5 separate regions of the Homo sapiens genome follow, and regions 2, 3, 4 and 5 are each linked to region 1. Evidence: promoter capture Hi-C in 16 types of primary human blood cells and fetal thymus (Javierre and others, 2016). All regions are on one chromosome and are shown on one strand. Each heading gives the region's core, a stretch centred on a gene start or on the middle of the fragment in contact. The rest is flanking DNA. Distances are from core to core; before and after follow the strand shown.

The links. Contacts are between HindIII fragments. The CHiCAGO score rates a contact against its expected background, and 5 or more counts as called.
Region 2: a contact is called between a fragment that was not itself captured here and the fragment with the promoter of CARTPT in region 1, in 1 of 17 cell types (endothelial precursors). The highest score is 7.4, in endothelial precursors.
Region 3: a fragment that was not itself captured here is called in contact with the fragment with the promoter of CARTPT in region 1 in 1 of 17 cell types (endothelial precursors); the score reaches 5.2 in endothelial precursors.
Region 4: a contact is called between a fragment that was not itself captured here and the fragment with the promoter of CARTPT in region 1, in 1 of 17 cell types (endothelial precursors). The highest score is 5.9, in endothelial precursors.
Region 5: a fragment that was not itself captured here is called in contact with the fragment with the promoter of CARTPT in region 1 in 1 of 17 cell types (endothelial precursors); the score reaches 8.5 in endothelial precursors.

What each region holds. Positions count from the first base shown.
Region 1 is chr5:71,717,149-71,721,516 of GRCh38, reverse strand. CARTPT (CART prepropeptide) reads right to left here and starts at 2,242. Exons shown (of 3, transcript NM_004291.4): 1 at 2,065-2,242; 2 at 1,554-1,637; 3 at 472-1,009. The coding sequence starts at 2,223. The coding sequence ends at 902. RefSeq lists an enhancer at 1,218-2,104. The HindIII fragment of the contact is 2,457 bases long and covers 633-3,089 here.
Region 2 is chr5:71,468,394-71,472,761 of GRCh38, reverse strand. BDP1 (BDP1 general transcription factor IIIB subunit) reads right to left here. Exons shown (of 39, transcript NM_018429.3): 7 at 2,273-2,367. Among named protein-coding and RNA genes, the nearest start is that of BDP1, 15 kb to the right of the region's middle. The HindIII fragment of the contact is 2,526 bases long and covers 1,272-3,797 here.
Region 3 is chr5:71,511,481-71,515,848 of GRCh38, reverse strand. It overlaps BDP1 (BDP1 general transcription factor IIIB subunit), which reads right to left. Exons shown (of 39, transcript NM_018429.3): 18 at 3,421-3,608; 19 at 2,442-2,664; 20 at 727-905. Among named protein-coding and RNA genes, the nearest start is that of BDP1, 58 kb to the right of the region's middle. The HindIII fragment of the contact is 913 bases long and covers 1,777-2,689 here.
Region 4 is chr5:71,537,106-71,541,473 of GRCh38, reverse strand. It overlaps BDP1 (BDP1 general transcription factor IIIB subunit), which reads right to left. Exons shown (of 39, transcript NM_018429.3): 27 at 2,396-2,432; 28 at 1,825-1,917; 29 at 1-20. It also overlaps the pseudogene HMGN1P12. Among named protein-coding and RNA genes, the nearest start is that of MCCC2, 48 kb to the left of the region's middle. The HindIII fragment of the contact is 3,292 bases long and covers 1-2,896 here.
Region 5 is chr5:71,579,127-71,583,494 of GRCh38, reverse strand. LOC124900999 (a long non-coding RNA gene) reads right to left here and starts at 3,356. Exons shown (of 4, transcript XR_007058810.1): 1 at 2,896-3,356; 2 at 2,452-2,537; 3 at 922-1,045; 4 at 1-544. The HindIII fragment of the contact is 2,158 bases long and covers 1,131-3,288 here.

The sequences.
Region 1 (4,368 bases), core at 993-3,492:
ATCTTTAAATCAATGTATATTTTCTAATAAGGGAGTTGTCAAAACAAAATTTCTAATTTTTCAAATTGCTTTTAATGTGACTAAAACATGAAACTGTTTATAGTTTATTGGTCTCACTGTTTAAAGTAAAGGGTCTGGCTAAAGGTTTTAATAAACAAAATTATATAACCTCAACTCCAACCATCTCCATCTCATTCATCTCTCTCTTTCTCTCTCTCTCTCTCACACACACACACACACACACATACACACACACATACACACACCACATCGCTGCAATCAAAGAAAAATAGAGTATACTAAAACTGGCTTGGCAAACTTCTAATTAACGATCAAAACTCCTTGGAGCTAAGGTGCCATTTTCCCAATAGGCTGCTATTTTTAAAATATTTTTCTTTGAAAACAACAGCATGATTAATCTCACCATTTCCACTTAAATTACTTATATGAAAACAGCAGTGCACTATGGGCAATTATTAAAAACACTTTATTATGTATAATTTGTACATGCTTCAATTTGTGTCACTTAGGGTGATTTATTTTCCAGGTTGTAATGACATCTACCGAGATTAGCTAGATCTAATTTTCATTCTGCCATGCCACATACAAAAATACAATTTTCAAACAAAGCTTCCCTTCTTTACACAAAGGTACACAAGAGTTTGTCAGACAAATAAAATAAGAATACTTCACACACGTATCAACACCATACAAGGCATTATTCTTCACACAGTAACATCTAATGTGTTCTTTTATTTTTGAAACAGCAGGAAAAGAGCCCTTTCCCTTCAGAGGAAAATAAAAACTTTATCTGTTGCTTAAGCCAAACTCCAGGGAGGAAGGTGTGGTCCTCTGGGGAAAGTAGAGGGATGGGGATGTATGGAGGAGAATGGACGCCCCTTCATAAGCACTTCAGGAGGAAGGAATTGCAGGAGGTTCCTCGGGGACAGTCACACAGCTTCCCGATCCTTGCCCCTTTCCTCACTGCACACTGCTCACCGGCGTCACACTGAAACAACAAAATGTGTGGTCATCGAGTATGAACAAACCCAGGTTCCCAACAGGCAAGTCTCACAGTCAACGCAATTTCTGTCTCTTGAAAGGGGCAATTGGACCCCATCACCATCACAAGAGGTCTACGTACAGTCAGATCTGAAACAGGGAGCCTTGTGCTTATAACCTCAGTGAGAGTACATTTTTTAAAGAAACTTACATTATTAGTTTTATCCTAGTTTCTTCCACCTTTAAGTGGCGAGGGTTGGGGGGCGTGGGAAGGGGAGCATCACATTTCCTGGCTCCTTTTCTTGCCCTCTCAGAGGGGAAAAAAATCAGACCTTTTTCCTGAGCAACAAACAATAGACTTACACTTTCTTACAACCCCTGTTCCTGCTTTCCCATTTCCTCACCCGGGAAGGAAGAAGGAGCCCACAGAATCCTGCAAGCCCATTACCTAAGTTATTTAGCCACATCCTACGGAGAAGACTGTGTGTACGATTCAAGGCGGTGTACTTTCTCTTGGAAAAACACGGGAAGGGAGTGACCACAAACCTTACCATGGGGACTTGGCCATACTTCTTCTCATAGATGGGAACACGTTTACTCTTGAGCTTCTTCAAGACTTCTTGCAGCGCTTCGATCTGCAACACACCGCTTCGGAGCCTGAAGTTGCCGCCTTGGCTGCGAGCCCAGCCCAGGTGCGCACTTCCAGCCCTAGTTATAAGGAGCCCCGGACCCACACGCACTCTGCGGTGGGACTCCGCGGACACAGGGAATGGTCGAGGGGTGGAAACTTAGCGGACGCTGTCCCAGGTACTGACCGCGGGTCTCTGAGCCGCTGGGGTCCCTGTTGCTCAGAGGGGCCGGGATGAGGGATTCGCTCAACAGACTGCCAGGAGCCCGTGAGCTCGAGACGCTCTTCGGATGGCAGTGGGTGCCTGGGCGTTGCGCTCAGCTCCCCGCGCCCTGACTCTGGGAATAGGAGTGGGGGTGGGGGGAGGAGGGAGGCGTGCAAGAGAAGAGACAAGGCGACAGCTCAAGGGGGTCGAGAGCGAGGGGAATACCGACCAGCTCCTTCTCGTGGGAGGCATCATCCACGGCAGAGTAGATGTCCAGGGCTCGGGGCTGGAGCTCGGCGTCCTCCTGGGCACGGGTACCCAACAGAGGTAGCATCAGCAGCAGGGCGGCGCCCAGGAGGGGCAGCAGCCTCACGCGGGAGCTCTCCATCGTTCTGAAACTCGTCGTTGCTGGGGCACCACGCGCTCCCACCTTTTATAGTGAGCCCGAGCCCCCGTGCAGGAAAGAGGGAGGAGGCGAAGAAGGAAGGGGGTGTGGAGGAGGGCCCGGGTCAACCGTCTGTAGGCAGCGCTCCGCCGGCGCTTGACGTCAATGCCCGCCGGGTTCCAGGCGCCTGGGAACGAGGCTCTGCGCACAGATGGGCTAGAGCGCAGAGAACAGGACCCTGCGCCCCCAAAGGCTGTCAGTCTCACGGCAAGGGATGCTCCCCGAGGGGCCTGAGCTGAAGCCGAGGGGCTAGAGGTGAGGGACGGGAAGCGGGAGGGGCCTAGGAAATGGAAAATGCCTTCGGGTCAATGCACAGGCAGGAGAGTCGTTTCCCAACACCTAGCAGTGGTGACAGCTGCAACATCCACCTCGCCAGCCCTGCCTTGCCTCGCACCCCAACCCCAAGTGTGGCGGTGAGAAGGGGGTGTTGCCTCCAGACAGCCACATTTGCTGAGCACCTTACTCTGTGGGGTAGGGGAAGCAAACATACTATACAAAAGAAAGAGAAATAGTGGCCCTCCACGTGATGGGTTCTATGATGGAATCTGTGTGACAATAGTTAAAAGAAGAGAGGGAAAACAGACAAACCCGGATTCAGCAGTGGTGTTGGAAGTGCAGAGAGCCAGGCTCTGGTTCCCATCCTGGCTACACCACGTAAAAGTTGTATGACTTTGAACAAAATGAAGAACCTCTCCAAGCCTCAGCTTTCTCTTTTGTAGATCTAGGATTAAAAAGATATACCTCACAAAGTCATCAGTAGGATGAAATGAGAGATTAAGTATGTCAAACTCCTGGTTCTTAGCTAAGCTTCCCTGTCCCTCCTTTTTGAACTTTGAGGCTGCCCAGGCAAATTTAACCATCCCCAGAACCTCCCCCCACCCACCACCAACCCTTGGTATCCAAGAAGCCTGTCTAGAAAGAGAGTAAAAGAGTGAAAAGAAAGACAGCTCCATGATTATGAAAATATCTCCAGAGATCAGAAGTCAATGGTGAACCAGCTCCCCAACAACTTGGGAGAACAATGTGGCTTTTTTAAAAGTTGAGATCCTTACAGCCTGAATGCACAGGAAAATTCCTGTAGGAAAAGCAATGCTTTCCCGCTTAGACCTGCTTGCTCACCTGGCTTCCTTCACCACACCATCTTTCCCTCAACTGTTCCTAAATTCATCCACTCTTCTCCATCCCCATTACTACAACCCAGTCCTAGACAGCTGCCCCAGTCAACTTAATGTCTACCACTTAATCCCCACCCTATCTTCTCTTGCCTTCCTCTACTCCATAGTTCACCACCAACCAGAGTATTTTTCCCCTTAAAATACACTAATGACTCCTAATCTTACTAAGCACTGAATCTAGATTCCTCATCCTGACTTGCAAAGCATTATATGATCTTCACCCCTCTCCACCTCATGTTCTACCACTCTGCCCCAGACTCCTCCACTCCAACCTCACATGGCCTTCTTTCTGGTCCTCTAGCAGGCCAATCTCATTCATACTTTGATGTCTTTGCACTTACCCCTCCTTGAAAGGTCTTCCTGTATTTCCAAAAGGCTCACTACTTCTGTTATTTAAATCTCAGTGTAAATATCTATGACTACTCAATCCAAACCATCTATCAATACTTTTCTCCCACAAATTTATTGCATAGCAGATTATGTGGGTCATTAAGATAGTTTAATACACAATATATGCCTGGTTACTTCAACTATCAAGTATTTAATTGGTACTCAAATACTCACTGGGAAGCAATTCAAGAAGTGATATCTCTTCTAATGAATAGCACACATATTAACAGCATCAAAATATTTTGCTGTGGGGTAAACCCAACTTGAAAATGTATCTAACACCTCCCTCAGCTCTGCCTTCCACACATACCTTTTGATTCTGCACAAGAAAACTTCAGTGGCAGCACGTTTTACTGTTAAAACCTTACAGAGACATATTGACACTCACTGCAAAAACCATCTCCAGTGATCTTTAAACTATTCTAAGCTTCAGAAGAAAAATAATCTCAAATAAGATTTTAGCCTATTCTTCCTGAAGGATGTAGATATTGTCAATGCAATACTTTCTCTCCAATTTTGTTCT
Region 2 (4,368 bases), core at 1,285-3,784, 250 kb after region 1:
TACTGATCTTCAACAAATTATTTCAGAAAATAGAAGAGGGAACACTTTTCAGCTCAATTTCTGTAACCAGTATAAGCCTCATATCAAAATAGGACAGACTTTGTAAAAGAAAATTACAAATCAGTATCCCTTATGAACAAAGTAGCAAAAAAATCCTCAAGAAAATGTAGCAAAATAGAGCAACACAGAAAAAGAATACACTATGACCAAATGGAAGTTATACAGGAATACATTAGTCCAATATTTGAAAATCAAGGTAATGTAATTCAGTAGCTTTAAATACAGTCTATTCTCATTTTTGAGATGGAGTCTCACTCCCATTGCACAGACTGGAGTGCAGTGGTACAATCTCAGCTCACTGCAACCTCCACCTCCCGGGTTCAGGCGATTCTCCTTCCTCAGCCTCCCGAGTAGCTGGGATTACAGGCATGCGCCACCACGTCCGGCTAATTTTTGTATTTTTAGTAGAGACGGGGTTTCACCATGTTGGCCTGGCTGGTCTTGAACTCCTGACCTCAGGTGATCCACCTGCCTTGGCCTCCCAAAGTGCTGGGATTACAGGCGTGAGCCACCATGCCCAGCCTACTCTCACTTTTCTACACTTTACCCAACGACCTGCTAGAGCCATAGTAACCTTTCAGGAAAAGAATATACATGATTTTTGAGACAAATAGCCCAGTGACAAATTTATAATTAATTACACAGATCAGCAGAGCACTCCAATTCCAGAAAATCAATTTCTAGCCTTCACAGAATTTTAACATTTTGTTCTTTTATCAAAGATCAACATTAGAAAATGAACATGAAGAATATAAAGTTCCTCATCTCTTGCAGAAATAACAAGACTATTTCATTACACTGTACAATGCCCCTTATGTAATGTCCCCAGACAATCCATGCCTAATTTAGTTCTAGTGGAAAAAACATACCTTCCTAATGGTTCCTTTTATTAATGTAATGAACATGATAGGGATGAGAAATGAAGTAAAAAGCCCATGGTTGAGTAAAGATCTCACTATCAATTGAGAATGCATTATGGCAACATAGTGTGATGACACTCAAATGCACTTAAACCCAGAAAACTTGTATAAAGTTTCTCAAGCAAAGAAACTAAAAAACAGAGAAAGCTCATCCTCTTGGGCATATAATAGCTGTAACTGACATCACTGTTGTTATTAGTGCCACTGGTTGTCCCAAAGTTAAGGGGGCCTAGGAAAGCAACGGATCAGAAAATGAGAACTGTGTAAACTCAGATTTCTTCTCTTTAAGCTTTCCTAGGAAATTCTGAAATACATTTTGCATTGAAAAAGCTACCCTCAACCGGGCATGATGGCTCACGCCTGTAATTCCAGCACTTGGTGGGAGGCCAAGGTGGGTGAATCACCAGAGGTCAAGAGTTCAAGACCAGGCTGACGAACATGGTAAAACCCCCTCTCTACGAAAAATAAAAAATTAGCTGGGCGTGGTGGTGTGCGCCTGTAATCCTAGCTACTAGGGAGGCTGAGGCAGGAGAATCACTTGAATTTAGGAGGCAGAGGTTGCAGTGAGCCGATATCGCACCACTGCACTCCAGCCTGGGCAACAGAGCGAGACTCCATCTCAAAAAAAAAAAAAAAAAAAAAAGCTACCCTTAACCAAAGTACTCTGGTACATTTATCTTCTCTTTTCATTATGTAACTCTTCTTATATCTTAGTTGCAGTGCATTTTTATTGGTACTGCCTCAAATTCATTTTAGAAATGAAGAAGATATAAGAAAATATGAAACTAACATAAAGAAGATTATACCCATATCAGAACTGATAAATATTACTTTTCAATAAAGAGGGATAAATGTAACAAAACCATCATAACAGTTTAAAAAAAAAAAAAGGGCTGGGCACGGTGGCTCTAGCCTGTAATTCTAACACTTTGGGAGGCCAAGATGGGGGGATTAACCTGAGCTCAAGAGTTCGACAGCAGCCTGGGCAACATGGTAAAACCCCGTCTCTACTAAAACAGTAAAAAAATCAGCCGGGCGTGGTGGCAGGTGCCTGTAATACCAGCTATGTGACATGCTGAGGCATGAGAATTGCTTGAACCCGGAGGCAGAGGTTGCAGTGAGCCGAGACTGTGCCACTGCACTCCAGCCTGGGCAACAAAGTGAAACTCTGTCTCAATGAAAAAAAAAAAAAAGATGAACTAAGATTTAAACCAAAGGTAAGCGAATAATACTACTAACATTTGTAATGTTTGGTCTCTTTCCAATCAACAAATGTGATGGGTTTACTTTACCTTAATTTCTATCCTTGCTCTGTGAGGAAAAAGTTGTCCGATCATAGAAAAGTCAGTTCCTACCATGCTGATGGCTAAAAAAAACATATCTGTTTCTGTGAAAATAAAAGATTTAGAATGATTGAAAATTAATTATATCAATATTTCAGAGAAAAGAAATCTTACAGAATTTGACAGTACTTAATTTTACTAGAAAGATCCCCATGCAATACCTAAAAACACCTTATTATAAATAAAAACTTTTCAGTATAAGAAATCGTAGGCTGGGCATGGTGGCTCACACCTATAATCCCAGAACTTTGGGAGGCCAAGGCAGGCAGATCATTTGAGGACAAGAGTTAGAGACCAGGGCCGGTCGCGGTGGTTCACGCCTGTAATCCCAGCACTTTGGGAGGCTGAGGCGGGTGGGTCACCTAAGGTCAGGAGTTTGAGACCAGCCTGACCAACATGGAGAAACCCCGTCTCTACTAAAAATACAAAATTAGCTGGGCATGGTGGCACATGCCTGTAATCCCAGCTATGTGGGAGGCTGAGGCAGGAGAATCGCTTGAACCCGGGAAGCGGAGGTTGCAGTGAGCCGAGATCGTGCCATTGCACTCCAACCTGGGCAACAAAAGTGAAATTCCATCTCAAAAAAAAAAAAAAAAGAGTTTGAGACCAGCCGGGCCAACATGGTGAAACCCTGTCTCTGCTAAAAATAAAAAAAAAATGAGCTGGGCGTGGTGGCGTGCACCTGTAATCCCAGCTACTGGGGAGGCTGAGGCAGAAGAATAGCTTGAACCCGGGAGGCGGAGGTTACAGTGAGCTGAGATGGCGCCACTGCACTCCAGCCTGGGCGAAAGAGCGAGACTCCACCTCAAAAAAAAAGAAAAAGAAATCATACAAAAGCATCTGGAATTTTTTTTTTAAAACATTCATTCTGCCTAGCTGATCTTATTCAAAGTGCTCTGAAGAAAGCTATGAGTCATACTCAGGATAGGGTTACACTACATAGGCAACTAAGATGTGCTAAGTAGTATATAAAGAAAGTAGCTAGAAAAATACACAAGAGGCCACGCACGGTGGCTCACGCTTGTAAATACCAGCACTTTGGGAGGCCGAGGCGGGCAGATCACTTGAGGTCAGGAGTTCCAGACCATCCTGGCCAACATGGTGAAACCCCGTCTCTACTAAAAACACAAAAATTAGCTGGGCATGGTGACATATGCCTGTAATCCCAGCTACTCGGGAGACTGAGGAAGGAGAATCACCTGAACCTAGGAGGTGGCGGCTGCAGTGAGCCAAGATCGCACCACTGCACTCCAGCCTGGGTGACAGAGTGAGACTCGGTCTCAAAAAAAGAAACTACTAACAGAAGTTACACTTCAGGAGAATAGGAATAGGGAAGTGAAAGAAGGGAAGTATAGAATCTTTTTACTCTATATCCTGCTGTTTGAATTTTTCCTCAAAACTACTGTTTTTAAAATAAAAACAATAAGCACCAACATGCAACAGATTTTTAACAGCATATTTATCTATAGAAGCTTTATTATACAATATTATCTGAGGTAGAACATTATTCGCATTAGAAATATTGTATTGTTGGCTGGGCACAGTGGCTCACGCGTGTAATCCCAGCACTTTGGGAGGCTGAGGCAGGCGGATCACCTGAGGTCAGGAGTTCGAGACCAGCCTGGCCAACATGGTGAAACCCCATCTCTACCAAAAACACAAAAATTAGCTGGGCATGGTGGCAGGCGCCTGTAATCCCAGCTGCTCGGGAGGCTGAGGCAGGAGAATCGCTTGAACCCAGGAAGCAGAGGTTGCAGTGAGCCGAGATCGCGCCACCGCACTCCAGCCTAGGCGACAAGAGCGAAACTCCATCTCAAAAAAAAAAAAAAAAGGAAATATTGTATTGTTAATTTTTATTTAAATGGTATTTACTGTAGAGATTTGACAGAGAGGAACATTCCAGCCAAAACGACTATAAAGGTAATTCTTAAAAAATATTTCTTTCAGCAGAACAGTGACTGAAAGAAATTAAAAAAAAAAAAAAATTTCTGGGCTGGGCACAACGACTCACGCCTATAATCTCAACACTTCGGGAGGCAAAGGAT
Region 3 (4,368 bases), core at 984-3,483, 210 kb after region 1:
CTAAAGTAGCTAAATATACAGATAGAATGGTGGTTGCCAGGAGCTGGAAGAGGAGGAGAATGAGTTAGTATTTAATGGGTAGAGAGTTTCATTTTATGAAGATGAAAAAGAAAGTCTAGAGATGAATGGTGGTGGCAACGGGACAACAATGTGAATACACTTAATGCCACTGTATATTAAAAAATAGTTAAAATGGTAAATTTTATCTTATGTGTATACTAATTTTTAAAAGTTAATGAATATATATAGCTTATATACATATAAGCTGAGTAGCCCTATCCAAAATGCTTAGGACCAGAAATGTTTCAGATTTCAGATTTTTTTAGATTTGGAAATATTTGCATTATACTTATCAGTTGAGCATCCCTACTTTGAAAATCCAAAATGCTCCACTGAGCATTTCTTGAGCATCATGTCAGCTCTCAAAAAGTTTTAAATTGTGGCACATTTCAGAATTTTTTATTAGGGATGCTCAACTTGTAGTTTTTAAATGCATTGCTTTGTATACACTCTTACGCAGCTGACAATGCAGATAAGCAGGCAACCATTAGAAGGTGTTGAATTCAATCTGATATTATATTTTAGGCAGTCTGCTGTATCAATAAAATTAAACCAATATTCTTTATGTTCACTTTTTAAATGCATTAACATATCTCAATAAAAATTAGAAATATTTAAAAGAAGTATCTCTCTTATTTTATATTGTCAAAGAAAATCACTGTTTACCCCACAGAAACAACTGAGTCATTTTTCTGGACTGGTGCTGACTGAGACTCCTCTTTAGGTTCACAAGAATTTGAAGGTGAAAGGTTCCTTTCAGTCTGTGTACATGGCAATATCACAGCCTCCTCATTCCTGTGACCTAATGTGTCTTTTTCTCTTGATATCATTAGGGAAGCTTCATCCTAGAAGACAGAAAAAAAATTTCATTCACAGTTGCTAAAAGTATAAGGAAATAAGAACTTTACAAGTATAAACTGATATCATCTTCGTGAAGAATAATAGGGTAGTCTATACCAAAATTCTAAATTCCCAGCAATTCCACTTCTAGAAATGTATCTTATAAATACTCAACAAGTAGAAATATACACACAAAAATATTTATTGTAACAATTTAAGCACCACCTCCCTCACCGGAAAAGACAAACAAAAAAATCAGAAATAAAACAGATATATCATTAGGGGATGGAATAAATAAATTTTAATTTCTTTACAATGCAATAGTACCTAATCATTTAAAAGAAGATATATCTCTTTGTACTGATCTAAAAAGAAGCTCACAATACTGTAAGTGGAAAAATCAGAAAGCAAGAATTAATGTCATTTTGGAAAACAATAAAAATACCTTCCCATTTTATCATTTTATAACTGTAAGACGAAAAAGTGTAAGTGGATATATTCAAAATTGCTGTATGATTAACTTGGGGGAAAGGGACGTGACATTATAAAAGACTCTCACTTTTTAGAATACATATATTTTTCCAAATTAAAATTTCTATAATCAGAAAGTATAATACAAATGTAACTTATCTTTTATGAATATAAGCTTAGGAGAAATAGTACAAATGTTGATGCACAGTAAAGTACTGAGCTATTTTAAGACATCAAATAAGAATTTTAATTCTAAGAAGGACTTCCACTGAATGTGGAAAACATTCAGTTTATAATTATTCATTTCGTTTCAATGTTTTTTTGATGGTATGTCACACAATCTTAATCTGTTATGGACCAAGTTAATAAAGTAAATAAAATATCACCTTTAACTCAAATCAAGCTTTTAACTCTTCATTTCACCTTCACAAGAGAGTGAAATAAAAAACGATTATTCTCGCTGGGCGCCACGGCTCAGCGTAATCCCAGCACTTTGGGAGGCCAAAGCAGGCAGATCACGAGGTTAGGAGTTCGAGATCAGCCTGGCTAACATAGTGAAACCCCATCTCTACTAAAAATACAAAAAAAAAAATTAGCCGGACATGGCAGCACGCGCCTGTAGTCCCAGCATTCAGGAGGCTGAGGCAGGAGAATCGCTTGAACCTGGGAGGTGGAAGTTGCAGTGAGCCGAGATCGCGCCACTGCACTCCAGCCTGGGAACAGAGTGAGACTTCATCTCAAAAAAATAAAAATAAAAAAAATAAAAAACTATTATTGTCATTTTTTCTATGAAGAAAATTGTTTAATCAATGGTCACATAGCTGGAACTGGAACCAGAGCCCAGACCTGAACGCTTTCCCACAACACGTTTGCCCATTATCAGATATCTGAGATTCTTACACAAATTATGTGGAACAATGAGGCACATTAAGCATGGGAGCAATATCACATGCAGCAAAAATTACACAGAAATATTTGTAGAATTTTAATGCCAGGTGCTTTTAGTAGTCCTAATAACTTAAAAAAAAAAAAAAACACCCACACAGAACTTCCATCTCAAATACACTCACATGTTGAGAAGGGAGAGTATCAGTTTGTTCATTATTTTCTTGCATCACAATAGTCTCCATTTTCTTGGTTTCTGATTTCTTCTCATATATATATTTTTCTGATTCTGTAGTCTCTCTCTTCAAAGCTGCTCTTGCTAAGTTTGGTTTTGGTCTTTTGAATCGGCTCCTCACAAAAGGTGCTGGTTTAATTTCAAGTGGCTTCTGTTCTTGAGGAAGAGATTTGCTTTTGGAACAAGGATTATCAAGCTTTAGAATGAACTGAAGGGGCAGTGGAAACGGAGTCTCAGTACAACCTTAGAGACTGGCGGTAAACATTTAATTTTTTTTTTTTTTTTTTTTTTTTTGGAGACAGGGTCTTGTTCTATCCCCCAGGCTGGAGTGCAATGACACAATCATAGCTCACTGCAGCCTTGACCTCCGCGGGCTCAAGTGATCTTCCCATCTGAGCCTCCCAAGTAGCTGGGACTACAGGCATGTGCCACCACACCCAGCTAGTTTTTGTTTTTTTATTTTATAGAGATGGGGTTTCTACAGCGTGTTGCCCAGGCTGGTCTCAAACTCCTAGGCTCAAAGGATCCACCCACCTCAGCCTCCCAAATTGCTAGGATTACAGGTGTGAGCCACCATACTTGGCCTAATTCTAATTCTTAACAGGAAAACAAATCGAACTATCTGGCAGATCCTGAAAACCATGAGTGGTACAATCCAGGTATGAGCCTAGGAATTACACCATCTCTGCACAAAGAAAATATGAGTCTATCAAACCTGTATTGATTTAAGACTGTTACATACAATTTTGTATGTCAGTAACTTTCACAATTGACTGTCAGAGTGACCTCAATCCTCTCTCCCAGTCTTCCCAAAACTATCTTAAAAGCTCTAACACTATCCTGTATATGTTATATCTTGAAACCTCACTTAGTTTAACGTAATCTGCAACTATAACTTAATATCTTTTTCTTTAAAAACACACTTGTACCTTAAATTAATATCTGAAAACTGCTCTGGAACATCTGGAGATTGAATCCCCTGGACTTCTGTTTTATCAGATTCATGAGTCTGTGAAGAAATCTTGAAATGACTGAAGTGACTTGATACTTCTTTTTCAGAATTTCTTTTTTCTTCTACAGGTGTATGCATCATCGACAGTACTTCACTGCTAATGTTCTAGAGGAACAGTCATAGTAAATCAGCACAAATAAAAGAGTATTTAAACATCTTATATATTTAAAACAAAAGTCTACTAAATTCTAAACACTTTCCTTTAAAACTTTAGAAGTTTTTAATTTTTGAATAAAATTTAATTTCCAAATGTTAAAACTTGGAATTCAGGAAACCCTTTTATGTTGCATATTATTACTTTCCCAAACCACAAATGTCATTATCTATTTTTAAAAGTTAGAAAAAAAAAAAAGTCCTTGAAAATGTTAGAAGATCATGAACTTCAAAGTAACTTGAAAAAACAAAAAGAACTTTTAGAAGTGAAGTAAGTCAGGTGGGGCAAGAAACAAAAGCAGATACAGATGTGGCCAAAAGAAATAATGTGTGTTCACGCTAGGGTTAGTACAAATTCAGTCTAATTTCCTATTCTTCTTTTACCTAAAAGAGTAACTTCAAATGATATTAAGAACAGTGACATTTTTGAGATCTCAAACCTAAGCCAAAAGAAAAGTTTGATCCTTGCCCATCTGACTTAAAGAAAAAAAATAATAATAATAACAGTGACTTTTTCACAGTTGGAAATTATTTTTATTTCTTTTTGAGACAGGGTCTCACTCTGTCACCCAGGGTGGAGTACAATGGCACAATCACAGCTCACTGCAGCCTCAACCTCCAGGGTTCAAGTGATCCTCTCACCTCAGCCTCCCAAGTAGCTGGGACTACAGGCTTACACCTTGTTATTGTATTTTATTTTTTATTTATTTTA
Region 4 (4,368 bases), core at 1-2,500, 180 kb after region 1:
AGGAATTATACATACTCCTACTGAAGAAAAAAAAAAAAAACAAAATTAAAATGGACCAAATTATAGATGCTCAAAATAAATTCCTCAACATTTAGTAATTGTAAAATTCTGTATTATTAAAGTTTGCTTCATTTGTGTGGCAGCAATAGAAAAAGATTTTAGAAATAAATAAATTTTGCCCTTGTTGGCTGTAAATTTATGATCTCCCTATTTCATGCCAGGGATTTGACCTGTTGTGAGCTTAATAATCCTTACAGACTGGAATTTTATCCGATTATTAGTAAAAATGAGTTCTTTTGTTACTTTCAGTAATTATATAATCTCAGATGGATTTCAAGACAGCACTGTCAGCATTTAAGATTTTTAAAACCTTTATGTTCTATATGTACTTTATGTTCTATATGTTTTTGACAGGCTGTACTGCAATACTCTGCCACTAAGAAAGGAGCCCTATACAGAACACAAATCAGAGACTTTCCTGATAAATACATGGTTCCAAGCCTAAAAGTCTAATATGTCTTTATTTATCTATTTTTGAGACAGTGTCTCACTTTGTCACCCAGGCTGGAGTGCAGTGGTGCGATCTCAGCTCACTGCAGCCTTGACCTCCTGAGCTCAAGCGATCCTCCCACCTCAGCTTCCCAAGCAGCTAGGACTACAAGTGTACACCACCATGCCTGCCTAATTTTTTGTATTTTTTGTAGAGACGGGGTTCCACCATGTTGCCCAGGCTGGTCTTGAACTCCTGAAGTCAAGCATTCACCAGCCTCAGCCTCCCAAAGTGCTGGTATTATTGGCATGAGCTGCTGCATCTGGCCCAAAAGTCTAATACTTAAAATGAATGGAAGCTGGGTGCGGTGGCTCATGCCTGTAATCCCAGCACTTTGGGAGGCCAAGACGGGTGGATCACCTGAGGTCAGCAGTTCGAGACCAGCCTGGCCAAGATGGTGAAACCCCAACTCTACTAAAAATACAAAAATTAGCTGGGCATGGTGGCATGCGATTGTAATCCCAACTACTTGAGAGGCTAAGGCAGGAGAATTGCTTGAGCCTGGGAGGCAGAGGTTGCAGTGAGCCAAGATCGCACCATTGCACTCCAGCCTGGGTGACAAGAGCGAAACTCTGCTTCAAATAAATAAATAAGATGAATGGTAGGCTACTCATAACCAAACTCCGTCTCAAATAAATAAATAAGTAAATAAAATGAATGGTAACCAGGCAAAATAATTACCAGGAATAGTATAATTATTCATTTCATGCAATTAAAAGATATTGAGATAGTAAAGATTTATCACTTGTCTGTGATTTCCATCTAATAAGTTAAAAATCTTGGTTGATATATCTTTTGGCTCTGTCCAAACTGAGAACAGTTTAAACTAAATTATTTCAATGAGTGCTATTGTCTCTTTGTGCTCTATTTGTCATCTAATTGTGAATACCATCCCAAGCAGCAACTCCTTTGCAAAAGACACATGTATAAACTATATCAGTGATCAATGAGCTCAGTTAACCAATGACATTTATGATGGTAAAGGTAGTATTCACTACCTTTACCATGCATACAACTATTCCATGCATACAACTATTCCATGAATACAAATTATTCTTAATAAACCAAGAGCATGATCTTGAATTAGCTGTCACTACACCTAAACAGTAGTAAAATAGTGGATGGATCAATACATACATATCATATTTTATGGAAGAACAACAAAATGGAGACAACTTCAAAGGTAAAAGGGTTATTACTCAAATGTGGGTATAATTTCTTAAGTTAGGTTTTAAAAGTTTCTATTTTTGATAGGACTTAGCTTTCATTCTTACCATCACCCTGTTCACTACTGATCTCTGACTGCAATACTAGATCTCCCATTGTAAGTAAAGTTATTGCAGCTTCGGTGCTTCCATCATTGGTACCTTGTGAGGAAATATATCAACATTAAAAAAAAGAATGAATCCGGAAATCTGTTCACTTAAAAAAGATTTTTAATTAAGGTGTTTATCTCCTAGGAGCAGATTCCAATATCCTCTGAGCCATTAATCCCTTACTAAGGTAGTCTTTTGTTCAGGTTATATGCTACAAATAAATAAATCATCACTGTTGGTTTTGACTCACTGACCATGCCTCCCTCCCATTAAATAATATCTTCAAGGAAAATGCTCTCCCATTTGTGAAGATCCAGAGGAAATGCTCAAATACTTCTTAAACATTTTTTTAATTCACCTTCTAAAATAACATTCCAAGAATCCACATTTCTCACAGAGACAACACATTCAATAGCTGAATCTTTTTGTTAAACTCTCCAGCAAACTGATTCATTTATTATCCCCACTATTAAATCACTGTACTAGTGTTAATCAAGGTAGTCTTAGCAGTTTCCTTGATAACAGTTACCTGGTTCATCTTGGATATGTTCACTTGTGGTCATTTCCTAAAAAGGAAAAAAATAAGTAACATCTTAAAATACTTCCCCAAACATGTTCTGTTTCTCAGCATGCACTACATTTTCAGAGGTCTTTCCATACTTTTAGCTACAATAGTGTAAACTGGTTTGTCTTAATTTATAATTATTCACAAAATTTCACCAGCAAGAACATAAACAATTTAAAGGCAAAATTCTTGTGTCTCTTGCTCCTGACTTTATCTTTTTCTTGTATTATGTGCAAATTTTAACTCTTATCATTTTGTTATGTACGTCTACCATTCTTACTTTACTTCTTCATTTTCATAATCCTTCAACTCTAGTCATATCTGCTGCCAATTTTTACCCAATGGAAACCAAGGCCTAAAGGGTATTGCAAAATTTTTATACTACTACGTAGCTTAAAACTTAAATGCATTTTAATAAATTAAGAAGTTACAGAACCAATGTCCAGAGCGACAGCTTGAGAAGCTTCACTGACCCACTCCTCAGTGAAACTGATTTTAAAAACAAAACATTTAAAAGCCTCTGAAACTGATCCTAACGACAAAAAGCAAATGAAGAAATATCTGTTCAAGAAAATCTGAAAATTTGCTAACAAAGGTGAGAGTCTATGTGAACTAACACTGCTCTTTCTCTCTCCTTCCTCCCAGCTCAGCATGGCAGAGACTCCACCTCAAACTGCTGCACCCAAAAATACAAGGCCCCCAGTCCCCAAGGTCCCACCTGGAGAGCATTTTTCCCTAGGGGAGTAGGACTTCATCTCCTGACATCACAAGAAAAGTACAGACCAATATCTATTATGAATATGGACATAAAAATCACCAATAAAATACTAGCAAGCTGAATCCAACAATGAATAAAAATTAGACATTATGATCCTAGAATTTATCCTGGGGAAGCAAGGTTGGTTTAACGTCCAAAAAATACAATGAAAAACAAAATTCACATGATCATCTCCATAAATGCAGAAAAAGCATATGACAAATTCCAACACCCTTTAATGAAAGAAACATTCAACAAACTAGGAATAGAAAGTAACTTCTTTAGCCTGGTAAAGGACGTTTATGAAAAATCCATGGTAACATCATACTTAATGATAAGACAGGATGGGAGGAGTGGTAGCAGCCAGGCAGCCCAGCTTTGAGAAGGCTCTCAGCATGGTGCGGCTCACAGGCACCCAGCATGCACACTCCTGACCACAAGATGCCCAAGAGGAAGATCAGCTCAGCAGAAGGGCGGTGAAGGAAAGAGCCCAAGATGAGATTAGTATGACTGTCAGCTAAACCTGCTCCTGCAAAAGTGGAAACAAAGCCAAAAAAGGCAGCAGGAAAGGATAAATCTCCAGACAAAAAAAGTGCAAACAAGAGAAAAACGGGGAACAAAGGGAAAACAAACCAAAGTGGCTAACCAAGAAATCAGATTTACCTACAGAAAACAGAGAAACAAAAACCAAGGAAAGTCCAGCCTCTGATGAAGCCCAGAGAGAAAAAAAGCCAAGTCTGATTAATATCATATACTATGTCTTACCAATAGTACCTGTCTCCCTTCTTGTACATTCCAGAGGAATATTTTTCTCAACTATTTCACAAATGCAAGTTTTTTAGTAACTCTAGAAACATTTTTAAGAAGAAGGAAATCCCACCTCATCCCATTTTTTAAGTGTACATGCTTTTAAGGGTAAAAATCATTTTCCAGTTGTTTATTTTTTGGTACAACCAGAAAACAGTGTGCGATATTGAATTATGGGAGGCTTTGACTGTCTTGGGTATCATCTTAACATTCCACTATATTAACTGGCAATATGGAGTCACAGTCCTGTATCTGATGTCTTGAAATTTTTAAGTTACTTTTATTCCCATGGTTTGGTTCTGGTTCTTTTTTTTTTTTTTTTTTTTTTTGGTTTTTTGGTTTTTTGGCTTTGAGACAGAGTCTTGCTCTGTTG
Region 5 (4,368 bases), core at 960-3,459, 140 kb after region 1:
ATGACTGACATGCCAGCACATGCACTCATGTTTATACATTTATCCCAATCCAACCTTATATTTGTTTTCCTTGGCGTAACAATCCATTTCCATATTCCCTAACTCTTGCCAATACACACTGGCAAGAAACTATCTCTTTCTGGGCCACGTTCAGTACTTTTTGGTTTGCACTGGAATAACTAACTTCTGTTAAGATCCAGAGGCAAGGAGGCAGGGTAGGATCAGTCCCTTACAAGAACTAGCATCAGCTCATAAGGCAACTGCCCCAGATGAAGCGACTAAGTGCCTTTTACACAGGGAAAGGCTGGTCAGGAATGGGGAGTGGATATGAGGGTAGGTTGCCTCCACTCTGAGAAAAGCTCAAGGGGATTTGGGCATTTGAGAGTCTGGGTCTTGACCACATCTGCCCAAATGTGTCCATCCTATTTCTCAGCTTTCCATTCCTTCCTGTGTAGTGTCCTTATATCATACTGTACCTTTCATTGACCCTTCAACTCCCTTCTTGTCAAATCCTGGCTTGATTCTCGGCCAAACTGCCCTGCATCTACAGAAGATAATAGACTCCAAGCTGTGATAAAGGCTTTTTTACTTTTCACTATTATAAGAATCTACTCAAGGTAAATAAAATTACGTGTGCATACAAAAACTTGAACAAAAATATTTATAACAGCTTTATTTGTAATACACAAAATCTCTAAACAACCCAAATGTCCATTAACAGATGAATGAATAAGCAAATTATGGTAAATCCATATGACACAATACTGCCTGCAATAAAAATGATGTAGGGCACGGTAGCTCACACCTACAATCCCAGCTACTTGGGAGGCTGAGGCCCTTCAGCCCAGGAGTTCAAGACCAGCCTGGGCAACACAGCAAGGCCCCACTCTTAAAAAATTAGCCTGGTATAGTGGCGCGTACCTGTAGTTCCAGCTACTTCGGAAGCCAAGGTGGGAGGATCACTTGAGCCTAGGAAGTCAAGGCTGCAGTGAGCTATGATTGCACCACTGCACTCCAGCCTGGGCAACAGAACGAGGCCCCAACTCTTAAAAAACAAAAACAAAAACAAAAAAAGTTAGATTTTATGTAAAGCACAATCTCTAAAGGTTATCCAAGACCACTTTTAAGCTTAATGATTAACTAGAAAGACTCACAGAACTCAGAAAAGCTATGTTCAGTTATGGCTTATTACAGTGAAAGGATACAGTTTTAAATCAGCATAAAATTAGCATAAACTATCTGTCATGGCTGAAGGCCCCAGGTATACAAAAACTCTTAAAAGGCAGGACATTTATTTCAAGGGCTTATAGGTTAAGGAACTGGTCAAGTGTCAGTTCCTTCTTTGGAATGTGTACAACCCAAACCTGCTGAATTAACCCTTTATTGCACAGTTACATACTGTATGATCCCATTTTAATGAAATGAAAAGTTGTGGGCCCAGCATGGTGGCTCATGCCTGTAATCTCAGCGCTCTGGGAGGCCAAGGCAGGGGTGGGGGATCGCCTGAGCCCAGGAGTTGGAGACTAACCTGGGCAACATAGCAAAACCCAGTCTCTACAGAAACTTTTTTCAAAAAAACAGCTGAGCGTGGTGGCATGCACCTGTGGTCCCAGCTGCTTGGGAGGCTGAGATGGGAGGATTGCTTGAGCATGGGAGGTCAAGGCTGCCATGAGCTGTGCACTCCAGCCTAGGTGACCAAAAAAAAAAAAAAAAAGTTGTAGTGGAGAACAGATAAGTGGTTGTCAAGGGTTAGAGCTGGAGGAGGGAATGACTATAATTGACAGCATGAGAGTGACTTTCGGGGTGATGGAACAGCTCTGTACCCTGACTGTGGTGATGTTACATAAACCTATACATGGGATAAAATTTCATGGAATTGTATATACACATGCACTGCCTGTAAGCATGATATGTAGCCAGCTTTCTGTATCCCCAGATCTCACATCGGCAAATTCAACCAACCACAGATGGAAAATATTGGGTGGGAAGAGACAATAAAAAAATAACAATACAGGCCAGGCGCAGTGGCTCACACCTATAATCCCAGCACTTTGGAAGGCCAAGGTGGGCGGATCACTTGAGCCTAGGAGTCTGAGACCAGCCTGGGCAACATGGCGAAAAACCCATCTCTATTAAAAATACAAAAATTAGCTGGGAGTGGTGGAGCCTGTAATTCTAGCTACTCGGGGGCTGAGGCAGGAGGATCACCTAAGCCATGGGAGGTCGAGGCCATAGTGAGCTACGATCTCACCACTGTACTGCAGCCTGGGCAATAGTTGAGACCCTGTCTTAAAAAAAAAAAAACCACGCAACAATACAATAAAAAAATACAAATTTAAAATGCAGTATAATGACTATTTGCATAGCATTCGCATTTGTATTAGTTATTAGAAATAATCCAGAGAAAATTTAAAGTACATGGGAGGACGTGCATAAGACATATGCTCATACCATTTTATATAAAGGACTTGAGCATCCTGGGGTTTTGGTGGAGGAGGAGAGTTGTGGAACCAATCCTTGAGGATATTGAGAATTGGCTGTAATTTGAATAAAATCTTTAGTTAATAGTATTGCGCACATGTCAATTTCCTGGTTTTCATCATTGTACTAGGATTATATAAGATGTTCTTGGGGAAATATAATTTAAGACAAAAATTCCTGCCACAACAAAAAACCTCTCCATTAAAGTAGAAGAGAAAAAAACAATTTTAGTATTTGAAAACCTATCAAACCAGAATGTGATGTGCATTACAGGCAATCTGCTAAAGAGATTGCAAAGACAACCTAACCCTCACCCCTGGAAGGCAGAGGTTGCAGTGAGCCGAGATTGCGCTACTGCACTCCAGCTTGGGTGACGGAGTGAGACTCTGTCTCAAAAAAATAAAAAACACTCACCCCTTTATATAACCAGGCAGATGCAACCCATGTCATACATGTTTTCAAGATAAACAACTAGTCCTCAAATAAGATGACTTCACAGCACCACCTGTCACCTGCGAATCGGAGTAGTCACCTGTGTTTGTTAATTGTCTTTATCCAAAGGAAAATTAAATTTCTTATGTCTTTATGGTAGGTTTGTAACTTAACAGGTGCCAGCTGAAGTTAGGTTCCTACCCTTCCATAGGACTAGGAAATAGGAATGCTATTTCCCTCGATGATTTCATTTCAAAGAGAAGGCTTCCAGGTCCTTAAGGATAAGATTATGGGGTTGGGGAAAAAAAAAACTGACAAGAGATTTATTTATCTTTTTTTTTTTAAACTAACACCTTTCTCATGGGTTATTAAGCTTATTTAAAAAAAGATGTAGGCCGGGCATGGTGGCTCACACCTGTAATCCCAGCACTTTGGGAGGTGGAGGCAGGCGGATCACGAGCTCAGGAGATTGAGACCATCCTGGCCAACATGGTGAAACCCCGTCTCTACTAAAAATACAAAAATTAGCTGGGCATGGTGGCCCGTGCCTGTAATCTCAGCTACTTGGGAGGCTGAGACAGGAGAATAGCTTGAACCAGGGAGTCGGAGGTTGCAGTGAGCCGAGATTGTGCCATTGCACTCTAGGCTGGCGAAAGAGCGAGCCTCATAAAAGAAGATGTAAATACATCTTCAAAGGGCAGAGAAGGAATTCACAATTACAAGTTTTCTAAAGTAAACGCTCTGAAGACAGACTGGGGGATTCTTTCTTTTCTAGGAAAATTCAATTTTTAATTGTTTTTAGATTTTTATTTACACTTACATAATCATGGGGGAAAAGTGAAGGATACAAGGGGAACTTTTTGTATTATTTTTGCAACTTCTATGTGAGTCTAAAATTATTTCAAAGAAGCTATGTGCAGTGGCTTGTGCCTATTGTCCCAGCTACTTGGGAGGCCAAAGTGAGAGGATCACTTGAGCCCAAGGGTTTGAGGCCAGCCTGGGCAAATAGTGAGACTCCATCTCCAAAAAAAAAAAAAAAAAAAAAAAAAAAGAATTATAGTCAAATTGAAACATGTTGAGAGGAGAAGAGGAGATTGGGAAAGAAACAAAGAGACTAGAAATAAGGAGTACTTGGTATATACTTATGCTATATGGCTAACCTTTAAAAAATACAATATATCCACTTTATGAGAAAAGCCATACAAAATATAAAGATTAAACCATATTTTTAAAAAAGAATAAATTATTAATATATTCAACAAGGTAGATGAATCTCAAAATAATCATGCTAAGGCTGGATGCGGTGGCTCACGCCTGTAATCCCAACACTTTGGGAGGCCGAGGCAGATGGATCACCTGAGATCAGGAGTTCGAGAACAGCCTGGCCAACATGGCAAAACCCCGTCTCTACTAAAAATACAAAAATTAGCCGGGCGTGATGGCGGGCGCCTGTGA